2 separate regions of the Homo sapiens genome follow, and region 2 is linked to region 1. Evidence: promoter capture Hi-C in 16 types of primary human blood cells and fetal thymus (Javierre and others, 2016). All regions are on one chromosome and are shown on one strand. The core of a region is centred on a gene start or on the middle of the fragment in contact, and the rest is flanking DNA. Distances in the headings are between cores, read along the strand shown.

Region 1 (6,999 bases), core at 3,626-6,125:
GGAAACCCTAGTTAATCAGTTGACATCAAATTACTCATATTCATCAGGAAGGCTGGCTCAGGACCTGGGTAAGGAGAAGGGCCTAGGTGGAGAGAGCACCAAGCACCCCTCCTCAACCCCAGCTGCTCTGCCAGTGGGTAGGACATCTGGCTGGGCAGATAGAGCTCCTGCAAGGGTATCTTTCCCCTCCAAAGAATCTCTGAGTTATAGTCTCTTGGACTCACTTCCTGCAAAGCTTGAGGAGAAAACCCAGCTCAGAACCTGGAAAAGTGACATGAAAGAAAAACAAAGGCAAAAACAAGTGATGATGAGTTCTGCCTAAGCCTGGCTAGGATCCAAGGGAAAATGGGCAGTCGATCACACTTGGGGAATAAGCCACACCCCTGGTTCCTTTTTCTGAGTCAGGGTCTTGCTCTGCTAGCCAGGTTGGAGTGCATCTCAGTTGACTGCAGCCTTGATCTCCCAAGCTCAAGCGATCCTCCCGCCTCAGCCTCCTGAGGTGCTGGGACCACAGGTGTCCATCTCCATGCCCAGGTAATTTTTTATTTTTGTTTTTTGTAGAGATGGGGTCTTGCCATGTTGCCCAGGCTGGTCTTTAACTTCTGGGCTCAAGCAATCCTCCTACCTCAGCCTCCCAAAGTGCTAGGATTACAGGCATGAGCCACAGTGCCCAGCCACCCGTGGTTCCTTATACCTGCTTTCCTATTCCCCATAGGAGGGGTCTTCCCAAGTAGCAAGAGTCTCAGTGGTGTGCAGCAAGGAACTACAAGCCCCAGACCCCACCGATGTTTTATAAAATAAGGGTAATAGACTATTAGTGGCAGAATTCCCTGGGTAATTTTATTTATTTATTTAATTTATTTATTTATTTTGAGACGGAGTCTCACCCTGTCACCCAGGCTGGAGTGCAGTGGCACGATCTCAGCTCACTGCAAGCTCCGCCTCCCAGGTTCACACCATTCTCCTGCCTCAGCCTCCTGAGTAGCTGGGGCTACAGGTGCCTGCCACCACGCCTGGATAATTTTTTGTATTTTTTTTTTTCTAGTAGAGATGGGGTTTCACCGTGGTCTCGATCTTCTGACCTCGTGATCCGCCTGCCTCAGCCTCCCAGAGTGCTGGGATTACAAGCGTGAGCCACTGCGCCCGGCCTCCTCTGGGTAATTTTAAAGATGCATATTGTTGGGCATCAGACTAGTCCTGATGAATCACATTTTCTGAAATGTACCTCAGGATTCGTATTATTAACGCACATTCTCTCCCCCTCTAATTTTAATGTGTAAGGCAAACATTAAGAACGGCTCTAAGTAGCTACGAGAATGATGGGAAACAATTACGTGGTTCATGGAACTATGAAGGGAGATCCTGTAATCTTCAGCAAAGGCTCCTTGGAGCTGGGAAGGAATGAGATTTGCACCACTGTAAACCCTACAGTATTTCCAGCCCAAGAATAAGGAGGGAGAAGCTGAGCTGAGGGTATGTGTGGGTGGGGTTGCCCTGCAGCCTTAGCTGCTTTGATCCTCTCCCACGTTGTCTCTTGGTACCCAGTAACCTAGCCTCTCCTTTGCAGGCTACAGACAACACCGTGTACAAACCACAGCAAATTTATTACTCAAGATCCAGTGCCACATTATAGCACCACCCGAAGCCCTCACCTTCCCCCTCCCAACCTGGCCCCTAGAGTACACCCAAAACAGAAAAAAAAAAGGAAACCCAGATCCCTGCTCCTCCTCTGGAAGAGGGGGCCTTGGCCAGGAAGCCCCTTCCATAGGTCCCAGCAGGCAGGAGAGTGGACCCCTCTGTGCCCAGAGAGCAAGGCTCCAGGCTCCAACAACAGAGAGAACATGCAGGCAGGAGCAGGAGCAGAGGCCTGTGGCTATGGGGGAGGAAAAGTGGGAGGAAAGGGCACTGCCTGAGGAGTCCGGGAGTCTGGTCATCCCGGGGATGCACGCAGGAGCTTCCGGGCATCAGGGGCCTGCCCCTGGCTGGTTAGCGCTTTGACAGCTCGTGGGACAGCCAGTCCAGACCATCGTACAGACCTGTGCCTTGGGTGGCACAGGTGGCCTGGACATACCACTGTGGGGAAAAGGAAAGAAAGAGGTCAGCAACCAGGAACAAAAGGAATGCCTTTATATCTCTGTCCCAGCCTGCAGCTTCCCTCAAGAGGCAGGATTCAGCACCAGGTGGGCAGGACCCCTACCGTGCGGCTGCGTAAGTGCTGTAGCCCCAGCTTGTCAGTCAGCTCGCTCACGGGCATGGCGTTGGGCATGTCCTGCTTGTTGGCAAATACCAGCAGCACTGCATCCCGCAGCTCGTCCTCCTGCAGCTGAGAGAGGAGAAGAGAAGGTGGGACCCAGGCTGCGTCTCCTCTACTGTGTTGGGGAATTCCCTTTCTACCTCCTAGCATCTTGATTGGAAAAAAAAAGTATTGTGCAGTCTGCCGTTGAAGACAAGACATAGTTGTAAATGAGCTTGAGGTGACCTGAGCCCATAAGTCCAGAAAAGAAAGACCTTTTCCTAATTTGAGTACTTGCCTAGGCAAAATGACAACATTTCCAAATGGAAAAGGCAGGAATGTAAAATGTTTCTCTTTGCCACATATAAGTCCCATCTCTCCCACAACTTCTCAGACTCAGATGTAAAGACATGAGAATGCGGCCGGGCGCAGTGGCTCACTCCTGTAATCCCAGCACTTTGGGAGACCAAGACGGGTGGATCACCTGAGGTTGGGGGTTCAAGACCAGCCTGGCCAACATGGTGAAACCCCGTCTCTACTAAAAATACAAAAATTAACTGGGCATGGCAGCGGGCGCCTGTAATCCCAGCTACTTGGGAGGCTGAGGCAGGAGAATTGCTTGAACCCGGGAGACGGAGGTTGCAGTGAGCCGAGATTGCACCATTGCACTCCAGCCTGGGCAACAACAGCAAAACTCCCATTTCAAAAAAAAAAAAAGACAAGACAATGCACAGAAAAAGTGAAAAAGTCACTCCCATCCAAAACAGGGTGAGATACACAATGTGTCTGTCCACAAAGAAAAACTTATATTCCTGGTCTTCAATGCCTGTTGGGGGCTCCCTGACTTCTATACCACTACAGAGATCACTCTGTCCCCAAGCTGAGGGCTCAGTTCCCAGGGCTCTGGGTACTCACCATCTTCTGGAGTTCATCAGCAGATTCTTGGACCCGCTCCCGGTCATTACTGTCCACCACAAAGATGAGGCCCTGGGCAGGAAGGAAGGAAGAAAGGAGAAGCAATCACTTCTGCCTGGGACATACCGTAGTGTGGCCCTTTCTGTTTTCTTCCCATTTGTAATTGTGTCAATCCTTCTCATCTAGTAAACTCTACAGAAGTTTACAGAACTCTATAGAAGCTCTACAGGAGTCATGGCACAAACTAGAGACCCCACTGCAAAGAGGAAGTAGTTTATCCAAAGATGTGCAAGGAAATAAAGACATGTTATGAGGGCTAAATCAGGCAGCCTGGTCCCAGAATCCTGCTTCTAAAGAGAAGTCCAAGCTGGGGAAGACTAAGGTGAGTTCTGAAGAGTGAGTAGGGGATAGCCAAACAGAAGGGGTAGAAGTGGGGAAGGGTTTTTTCCTTGGCCTGGGGGCCCAGCCTAGGCCAACAATTCTGTTCTCCCAGCCCTAACACCTTTTCCCGTGGGGTTAGAAAGTCCCCTCCCAACACTCCACCTGAGTGTTCTGGAAGTAGTGCCGCCACAGAGGCCGAATCTTGTCCTGGCCTCCCACGTCCCAGACTGTGAAACAGATGTTCTTATATTCCACTGTTTCTACATTGAAGCCTGCAGATAATTGGAAAAAAAAGATGAGAAAACTCCTGAAAGAAAGGAACTCACTAAAACTACTTAGATTTCAGCAGGGACACAAAACCAGAAGGCAATGATCAAGGCCCAGGGGAACAGAACCCCAGAACTGGCGGTCAACAGGGCGGGGCTAGGTCACATCCACCCTGCCTCCGGTATCCACGTAGAGATACCCTGACCCACTTCTCAAATAGCTGTATCTGGTGTCAGGGTCAGCTCCAGAAAAGTGGCAGAACTGGGAGCAGACCCCGCGAGGGCCCGCCGCGGCGCTCCCGCTCCCTGCTTCGTCCCCGGGCTCACCTATGGTTGGGATGGTGGTGACAATCTCCCCCAACTTCAGTTTGTACAGGATTGTGGTCTTGCCAGCCGCATCCAAGCCAACTGCAACGGAAAGGGGCACAGGGATGGAGATGGGAGCGAGGGAGCCCCCTAGAGACCAGGGAAAGGGAGAGGCCACAACAGCTGATGGTGACTGGGGCGGAGAGCGGGAGCGCCTCCAGGTGCGCGTCGTTATCTACCTTTGAGGCCTGGAGGGCAGTCGGGTGGCGTGAGCCAACTCCAAAGAGGGCGCGGAGCGGGAGAGGACTGGGAGGCAAGGGGCACGGGAGGTAGGCCGCGCTCGTTTTAAAAGTCGTCTCCAAGGGCGGAATCCTCCCTTCTTACCAGCCGGGCTGGGGCGGAGGGAGCTTCACCCCACCCAGGCCCGCAGCTCCGGGTGTCAGGCCCCGGGGTCGGCGATGCAGACCGGGACCCGCCCGAGAGCAGAGGCCCCGGGGCGTTATGAGGTGGGTGACTCGGGGCCAGAGACCCAGGTGAGCGGGGCTGGAGGGACGCGGGGGCGGAAGGGCTGCGCCGGGGCCGGCGCCCCGGTCCGGGCCGCGCGCTCGATCTGCCTCACCCATGAGAATCCGCATCTGCTTCTTCCCGAAGATCCGCGAAAAGAGCGCGGACACGGTGAGGCCCATGGCGGGGCCCGGGGAGGGGCGCGGGCACCGACGCGGGGTGCGGGCTGGAACTGGCCGGCCGCGGGGGGATGGGGCGCAGCAGCAGCAGGAGGAGGCTCCGCCGCCGCCTCCGCGCGTCGCTGCCCTCCCGACGTCACCGCGGGCCCGCCCCCGTCCGGGCCCCGCCCCCGGCTCTCGGCCCCGCCTCCCCCGGCTCTGGCTCCTAGGGGAGCTGAAGCTCCGCGAGTTGCCGCTGCTGGCCTGGGTCCCGTGCGGCCCTTACTTGGGAACGGGTCTAGGTCTCTAACGCGCCTGCCAGGCCTGTGGCCGCCGAACCGGCAGCCCGAGCGCGGCTGAGGAAAGGATTCATCGCTCCGCAGCGGCCCCTGCCCCCATTTTCAGTGGCCGGCCGCTGGGCTTTGGTTTGTTGCGTCCAGGCCCCTAGGGGCTCCGGTTTTAGCCCTTGGGAACCAGTAGCACTGAACGTGTGCACCACTCTCCTTTGGGGAGTGGAAGCTGCGATTAGGGGTCTTGGTCCTCCCTTTACTGCCTCATCTTCCACCGAGGGACTTGCGCGTAGTAGGTGGTCGTGTGAAGAGTGCGCGGGAGGTAGGGGAAGGTGCCCGAGTGCTAGCTAGCTTCCATGGTTCCTCAAAACGCCTACTTCCTAATTCCCAATCCGCAGAACCAGTGTAAGATTCCCGGCCTTGGGCGGCGGGGTCACAGACCCACTCCTGGGCTGTTGGAGAAGTCCACCTTCGTTTGGATCGCCCTGCGGGCCCCGCCTCTCAGTCCAGGCGCTGGCCGCTTTGCCGAAGTTCCTCACTTTGCCACAGACTTGTGGACCTGGCTTATTCTTGCACATCCATTCAGGATTTTGTGAAGATCTTGACTCCGTAGACCCAAAGAGCTTCACATGTCATTTCCCTGCCTCATTTTAACATCTGAGAGGAGAATAGCAAAATAGGAATGAAATTCTTCTGCGGTGGAGACTGGCTCATTGCCAGGCATTATTAGGCCTAACAAATGCTTGTTCAGTTGAACTGGACTGATAGATTCTCAATGGAGCGAGGGTAGGTGTTATGTCTACTCTGGATTCCCAGTGGGCTTCTAGGATCAATTGTTTATGGACTCGAGGTAAACTGAGCTGGGAATAAAAAAACCTTCACTCATTCATTTGCTTTTTCAGCAGATATTTACTGAGCACCCACCACTTGCCAGCACGTGATTTCAGGCTTTAGTTCAAATCTTAATTCTGCCATTTCTTGAGGATTTGGCTTCAGCACTCCTCATAACTCTTCCGTTATTTCATCATCTATAAAATGAGACTTGTTCTAACTTAAGGGGTTATGGTGAATCTTAAAATGATTTGATAATGTGACTGAATGTTATGTATAATACAGCTTGATGTTATTTGGGCCACTGAGAAACGGGGTCTGAACAGACCTCCAGGGCCTGCCCCATCCTGATCTGCAAAGTCTGTAACAAGGACAGACTTTGGGAAACAGGTATGAGTGAGTGAATGACTTTCCTTTTCTCTTCAGTCATAGACTTGCATCCCTAAGAAGGCTTTTACGAGGCTGAAGAGTACATTTTAGAGAGTTCCAATATAATAACAGAACTAGTGTTCACCAAGTTAGGTCAATTCTACATTTAGCTCTTTTATCAGCCTCTTTGCTTCCATCTCTGTTGTCACTACCTTCTGTTCCCCATGACTGAAAGTCTCCTCACAGGTTTCCTGCCCCTTGTTCCCTCCAACATGTCATACAAGTCTTGATGACATCCCACTTTTCAGATTAAAATCCATTAGGGCCTTACTATAACCCAAGATAAAATTTAAATGCCATAAGTTGGGTCCCTACCTATTGTGCCAGCCCCTCTGTTGTCACCTCCTTCACATACCCTAAGCTACTGAATGCTTTCTGGGTGAGTCAAACTCCGATACCCTACAGGTCTTTGCATTTTTTTCCACCTGCCTGGAATGCTAGTTTCCCTGATCTCTGGTTAGGTGGACAATCACGACTCATCCTTCAAATCCCAAAGTATTATTCCCAAGAGCCTTCCATGCCTCACCTAGACAGGCCTCTTTCCTCTTAACTTTCATACCACTTTGAATATACCCAGACATACTGGTGTGATAGCAGGACATATTTGTATGTCTGGTTCCTCACTAGATTGCGAGCTCCCTGAGGGCAAGGTCGTGTCTCTTAATGGTGTTACCATCTGGCACAGC
Region 2 (6,763 bases), core at 2,308-4,807, 1.2 Mb before region 1:
GCAGGGAGGAATGAAAAATCTGCACTTTAAAGAAGTTCTACTTAAAAAAAAACAAAACGTCCTTTGTGCCCACATATATAACAACTCCTGGCTATTAGAAACTTTAACAAAGCCCTCTTGTTTTATGAATATAGACACTAAAAACAAAAAACACCATCCATACCAAAAACTGTACTAGATTTATCTAAAACCATATGGTTTTTGGTATGGAGCATGTATGTTCAAGCAGAAACAAAGGACATCTAAGACAAAGGATATCTTACGTGGGAAGATGTGAAAGGAACAGTAAAAAATAACTTCATACACAGCATTTGAAAATCTACTTTAGTGCACTTCGTTTTCTTTTGTTGAGACTGAGTCTGTCTCTGTTGCCCAGGATGGAGTGCAGTGGTGTGATCTTGGCTCACTGCAACCTCCACCTCCTGGGTTCAAGTGATTCTCCTGCCTCAGCCTCCTCAATAGCTGGGATTACAGGCATGGTCTACCACGCCCGAATAATTTTTGTATTTTTAGTAGATACAGGGTTTCACCATGTTGTCCAGGTTGGTCTCAAACTCCTGACCTCAAGTGATTCTCCCGTCTCGGCCTCCCAAAGTGTCGGGATTACAGGTGTGAGCTACCATGACCAGCCAGTACACTTCATTTCTGAAGCATCTTTGTCTTTTCAACCAAATTGAAACCAAATGATACAAAGTTAATGGCCCTTCTCATTTTCCTCACCCACTTCAACACTTTATAAAAGTTTAGACTGGGCCAGCAGCAGTGGCTCAAGCCTGTAATCCCAGCACTTTGGAGGGCCAAGGCGGATGGAATGCTGGTGTTCAAGACCAGCCTAGGCAATCCCATCTCCACCAAAAATACAAAAAATTAGCTGGGTGTGGTGGCGCAGCTATAGTCCCAGCTACCGGGGAAGCTGAAGTGGGAGGATCGCCTGAGCCCCGGAGACACGAGGTTACAGTGAGTCATGATCATGCCACCACACTCCAGCCTTGGTGAGGGAACAAGACCCTGTCTCAAAAAAAGAAAAAGAAAAAAAAAAGTTTAAATTGGATACTTTTGTCCAAAAAGTAAAAAAAAAGTTTAGAGGAATAGGTACAGATCACTTCCAGCTGGAAAGATCTTTGTGTATCCATTGGGCCATACATACTGATCACAATACTGGTCCAATGGATATACTATGGACATAATGGACAACATAATATTAGGAAAAATATGATACACATAAACAAAAGACTTAGCTGTATGAGCTTTTATCATGTGATCTAGAAAGTAAACCAATGGTTGTGAAAACTGAATTTCCCCACCTCCCATTTCTCAAATGAGTTTCTCTCTCTAAAATTCTGTCCCTCTTCCACGAAGGGTAACATCTAATATTTTTTTCTTGGGAAAAAAAAAAAATCTAGGCCTGTACTGCCCAGTACAGTAGCCACTAGCCACATGTGACTACTAAGCACTTGAAATGTGGCTAGTGTGAATTGCGATTGGTATAAGTGTTACATTTCATATTGAAAGAATGGTATTTTATATGTATTAGATTAAACATTATTAAAATTACTTTCACCTGTTTTAGATTTTCACCTGAAAATTTAAAATTACATATGTGGCTTGTATTATATTTTTATTGGACAGCATGTTAGACACAAACCAAAAGATTAGAACAGAAAATATATCCAGTAGCTATCATCCTTTTGTAGTATTAGTATGTCACCAATAATGGTCTTCTATAAAGTTGTTTTCATGAATCGTTCCAGTAATTTATAAAGAGAAAAGCCTAACTGGGTTAAGTGTGATTTTAATAATAATGAGTCTTAAGAATTGGTTTCTTCGATCCATCCAAAAATGTCCTTAAAAGCTCTAAATTCTTATCACTTCTCCCTACCCCACCCTTCAGGTAAGAACTTAGAGCTTTCAAGGAAGTTTTTGTCCTTAGTGTCCATAGTGTATCCATTGGACCAGTATTGCGAGCAATACATGGCCCAAACTTTCAATTTTGGTAAAGTGCCATTGGTCACAGAATACTTAAATTGTTTCAGGGAAATTTAGATGTTTAAATTCAACTTCACAAGAACGTTAACACTGAGTGATCCAACAGTTATTATGGTTGACCAAAGACCCATTGCTCAATGTTAACAATTGGGAGAAATGGGTGTGGTAGTAAAATTCCAGTTCTCTGAGCTGGATGGATATTCACCAGAAAAGGCATTTATTTCTCCATAACGCAGCAAAAGCAGGATCTCATTGTTTAACTGTCTACTTCAATTGGAGATTACAGGGAACAGACTGATAGCAATTTAACTATACTAAGGCCCAGGTTATGAGATCTCGAAAATGAAGTTATCTTGTTATCTATCTGACATTCTTTACTTACAAACTTTAGTACTATACCAATGGACTATCACATAAAAGTGATGGCATCCTTCATGATTTGATAAAAGTCATGATACCAACACATAATTTATTTAACGTCTCTCTAGTGATGAAGTTACATCTGTTCATCAATACATTCTAATTATATTGTGTGATGGAGGGAATACATTTATAAGACAGCTGAGATAATAGAAGTGTAAAATCTGGCTGCAGAAGAAAAACCCTGAGAATGTCTGAAACTATTACTCAAGCTTCATTAGTTCTATAACCAAAGCAACCCAGCACAAACTTTAAATTTTTCTGGCTACAGAATAAAAAACTTTTTAAAGAAAAAAGTTCTAGAAATTCTGAGAGAAAAAAGTTTCCTTTTCGTTGACAAGCCTTAATACATAATCAATTGTGAGAGAAATGCTATTTGAAATGTAGGGATAGGAGCCTTGGTTTCTAGTTGTAATTTTGCTGTGCATGTGTAACATGCGTGACACTGTTGAGAATTTGGTAGTTATTTTAGCTCAAACTTCCTTCAGTGCCAGATGTCTATAAATAAATTTAAGATCCTAGAAGACCTACCTACTATGATCACTCTAGCTGGAAGTGATCTGTTATCTTTTTCTCTTTTTGGACAAAAAGGGTATGATCCAATCTAAACTTCTATAAAACTCGTCTGAACCACTCAAAAACAATGACCATAGGTTACCTTAAGTTGTCTCCTTAGCTCCCCTTTAGAATCGACATTTCTGGAAGAATGTCTACATATCATTCTAATACAAATTATTACCCCTATATTGTCCCTAATACATTGTCTTGCACTTTTTTGATACCAATACATTTTACTGGATTAATACATCTTACTGAATTAATTGGGCGGTACTTGGCAGCAATGTGGTTCCTGCCTGCCTGTGTTCTCCAACTTCCAATTCCGTTTACTGGATCTGGCAATCAGCCAGGAACAGGCAAAAGTGTTATTTCAGCTGTCTTAACTCTAATACATAAATTACTGCATCAGCAACATCCATACTTAAGAGTTCAGAGAGTGAGAATCTAGGGCCTTGTGGCCTAGCTAGCATTTCCAGTGGCTATCCTTGGCTACACCTCTGTCCTTTCAATATCCCTGGTATACCTACGTTACAGAAAATCTGTGTTAACACCAATGTACTAGGGTGTGGTGTTATATACCTCTAGTCTCAGCTACTTGGGAGGCTGAGGCAGGAGGACTGCTTGAGCATGGGAGTTCAAGGCTCCACCTGGTCAACATACTGAGACCCTCAACTCTAAAATAAATAAATTTTAAAAAATAACACCAATATATAGATCCCAATACTGCTCTAATGGATATTAAGTGCTATCAATAAGTACTTCTTGACACATCACTGGATGAATGAAAACAAACAATGATTACATTGAGAGTGACAATGAGTTGGTTTCAAAGCTATATTGAGTACTATTCACTCAGGCATACTCAATACATTTTTGTGAGCTCATGGCTTTCCTACTTGTGATTCTCAAAAGAATCCTATTGGAACCCCCCCACCCCCCAATCACAGTAAAACCTCAGATTAGGTCTTGGCAAACTCATTTTCTTGACAAATACAACTTAGAGGTTATATCTGGTCCCTCATTTGGATTATACTATATAAATTCTTCAGTGATTACTGTCGTTTGGTATTTGGTTAATTAAATCTACTGAGTGAGGTCAAACTTGCATTTGTCTTGTGTCAAGTTCCATTCTATGGCAGACTAATTTAACAGAGATTCCAAGGTTCTCTGCCTCCAAGCTGAATAAGCTACTAGAACAAAAAACAACTAGAAGCCACCTTATTCCCAATTCATTAACGTTGACTTCATGGTCCACACCAGAAAATGAACGCAACTCAATTCTCGAAGACACTATTCTAGAATTTTATACACTTAGGAATTCAGATCACAGGCTCAAAAGTTTTAGCAGGAGACCCACGGAGCTTGGGCCTTGATGCAAAAGCAGCTTTTGAAACTGCAAGCCACTCTACGCTTAATCGCGGCAGCTATAGGGAATTAAGTTTATTTCTGACCGCAGCATGCTAAAAATCAGTAGGATATGGGGCTAGAAGCAACAAAAAACGTAACAAAAATTAATTCCCCAATAAAGCTTTAAAAACTATTTTCCGTCGCTAACTGAAGTACGTAGCCAAATATGGAAGCTCTAAACATTCAGCTTTTCTTTAAAATCATAGATATCACCTAGTGTCGTCACTCGTTCTCTCCCCCCTTGTTTCTGCACCCTTTAGGTGAGTGAACACGACCTTGGCAGATGCACCCTACTGTCGGGATGTGGCCTTGGGGCGGAGCTGGCAGATACAAGCAGGATGGTGAGTGGAGGCGGCAAGGAACTCTTACAATAACACTATCCAAATGCCCTCCGACCTTCCGGAGGCAAAAAATGACCCTCTGGTGCCAGAGACTCGGTGAGTGGCGTGACCTAGAGATGGAGGACCAGGACGCAGCAAACCAGGCACAGAACAGTACCCAACGGGACAGAGTTCCACCGGACCAGCCCCCTTCCCAGAGCGCGCGGTAAGACGGGCGGCGGCCTCCATCCCAGGCTGCACACAGAGGGTCCCGGGATCTCCAGCAGCATCAGGCCTGGGACCCGGGCGCCAGCAGAGACAGCGGCACCGAGTGAGGCAGTCCCCTGCCGCGCCAAGAACAAGACCGGGGACAGAAAGAAAGCGAATAAAGATGAGGCAGTGGTGAAGGGGCTGGGCATCACCGTACTTACCTTTCCTCGTAGCCCCCACAGCACAGGATGCCGTGGCCGCCGCTCACCCACCGGCTCAGCTCACGCGCGCAAGCACCGCCCAACCGGAAGCGGGTCCGCACCCCGCCCTCATCCGCCTCGCCGGCGGCCTCCCGACCAATCATCAGCAAACCCGCCGCTGTCGCATAGCGTCCCCGAGTAGCCATTGGTCTAACAATCGCATAGCCGGGATTGGCTGGAAAGCGCCACGTCCCCGGGACCGCGCCGAGTTGCGTGGAGCGGATTCCCGCCCAACTCTCGTCCCCGGGATTGTTGGGACGGCGGGCTCCAGCCCCAGCCCCAGCCCCAGCCCCGTACTGCGGGTGGCGTGGGCGCGGCCGTGTGGCCGCCACGTCCCCATTCACAGCTCATGACTCTGCTTCCACAGGGCTTCTTAGACTATCCTGCTAGTTATCTTCATTCCCACAAGACCACCAGGGCGGAATTAATCCGACTGAATCAGTCACCAACTTTATTGAACAATCCCAACTTTTTCTTTCCCTTCAGCGCTGCGCCCTGCGCTATCTACAGGAGGCTCTTCAGTCTTTGGCACCAGTGTATCTTTTAGCTCCATCTCCCAACACTCCCCCTCATCTTGCGCTCTGGGCACCATCATCTGTTTCCTAACAACCGGTCCTTTTTCATCTCTTAAGATTTTTGATCAAGAGGCTTCCTCTGCCAGGAATAAGTGCGTTTTCCTGATTTTCTGCCTTGCCAATAGAAGTCCCAGTTCAGATGTTAGCTCTAGAAGCCTTCCCTGACCTCACTAAGCATAATTCTTACCTTATTTACCATCATAGCTGTTTATAGCTTCAGTACACTTTGCCAAATTCTGCTATAAAATGTAGCTTATCCATCTGTCCTCTTCTAGAGTAAGCTCCTGGGTAGGTATCTGTCTATTCATCTTTATATCTGCAACTCTGAGCTTACTGCCCAGCTCAGTAATGTTAAGTGAAGGGAATGGGCCGAACCCGTTGCATGTCCCTGAAAATTTAATTTCATGTCATGAAATTAAAACAAATATCAAATAAAGGCTACTATAGCTTCAACACAAATGGAATGTAAACCTGTGGCATTCTTAGCACATAAAGCCTCTGTAGTTTAAAATCAAATTGAGACAAGTTGTAAACTCATGAAACAGTTAAGCTCATGAAAGCAAGCTAGTTACTGTCAACGTGAAAGGTTTACAACTAATCCTTCTGGCATTCAAAGGAGTGTCAGTGACCCTTGGTGGTAGTCAGGGAAGGCTTCAGAGGAAGATATGACTAAGGCTGGACTAAGGAAGTCCCAAATGGACTATTCAGCAAGAAGAGTAATAGGAATAAGGACAAGTGGAGGGCAGAGTGGGAGGTAAATTCTCAGGCCAGGTAGCAAATGAGGAAGGTTAAAAAAAGGGGTGGGGGGAAACAATGAAAGAAAAGCATGGATAGTAAGTTTGGAGAGGTAATGGAAGATCTTGTCAATTTGAGGAACCTGAACTGAAGACAGTGGGAACTGTGGGTCTTCCTGGGAAAGTTTCTAAGCTTGTGCCTACAGGGAAGCCATCTAATGGGTATTAACAATAAAACAGGCTACCTCAGGAGGCATTATTTCGAAAACAGTTTTTAAAATACCTCCTTAAGG

What was found. The method cuts DNA at HindIII sites, captures the fragments that hold promoters and counts their contacts. A CHiCAGO score of 5 or more calls a contact.
Region 2: a contact is called between a fragment that was not itself captured here and the fragment with the promoter of ARF5 in region 1, in 1 of 17 cell types (fetal thymus). The highest score is 6.7, in fetal thymus.

What each region holds. Positions count from the first base shown.
Region 1 is chr7:127,586,287-127,593,285 of GRCh38, reverse strand. It overlaps ARF5 (ARF GTPase 5), which reads right to left and starts at 4,875. Exons shown (of 6, transcript NM_001662.4): 1 at 4,721-4,875; 2 at 4,123-4,203; 3 at 3,692-3,801; 4 at 3,149-3,220; 5 at 2,198-2,323; 6 at 1,586-2,073. The coding sequence starts at 4,787. The coding sequence ends at 1,987. LOC105375490 (a long non-coding RNA gene) reads left to right here and starts at 3,440. Exons shown (of 5, transcript XR_007060511.1): 1 at 3,440-3,530. LOC105375489 (a long non-coding RNA gene) reads left to right here and starts at 1,046. Exons shown (of 3, transcript XR_007060513.1): 1 at 1,046-1,157; 2 at 1,282-1,473; 3 at 3,335-3,417. RefSeq lists enhancers at 3,549-4,174, 4,175-4,801, 4,802-5,427, 5,428-6,054 and a silencer at 4,549-5,038. The HindIII fragment of the contact is 7,240 bases long and covers 238-6,999 here.
Region 2 is chr7:128,737,792-128,744,554 of GRCh38, reverse strand. CALU (calumenin) reads right to left here and starts at 5,196. Exons shown (of 7, transcript NM_001219.5): 1 at 5,123-5,196. RefSeq lists an enhancer at 4,860-4,959 and silencers at 5,240-5,379, 5,450-5,589. The HindIII fragment of the contact is 1,874 bases long and covers 2,621-4,494 here.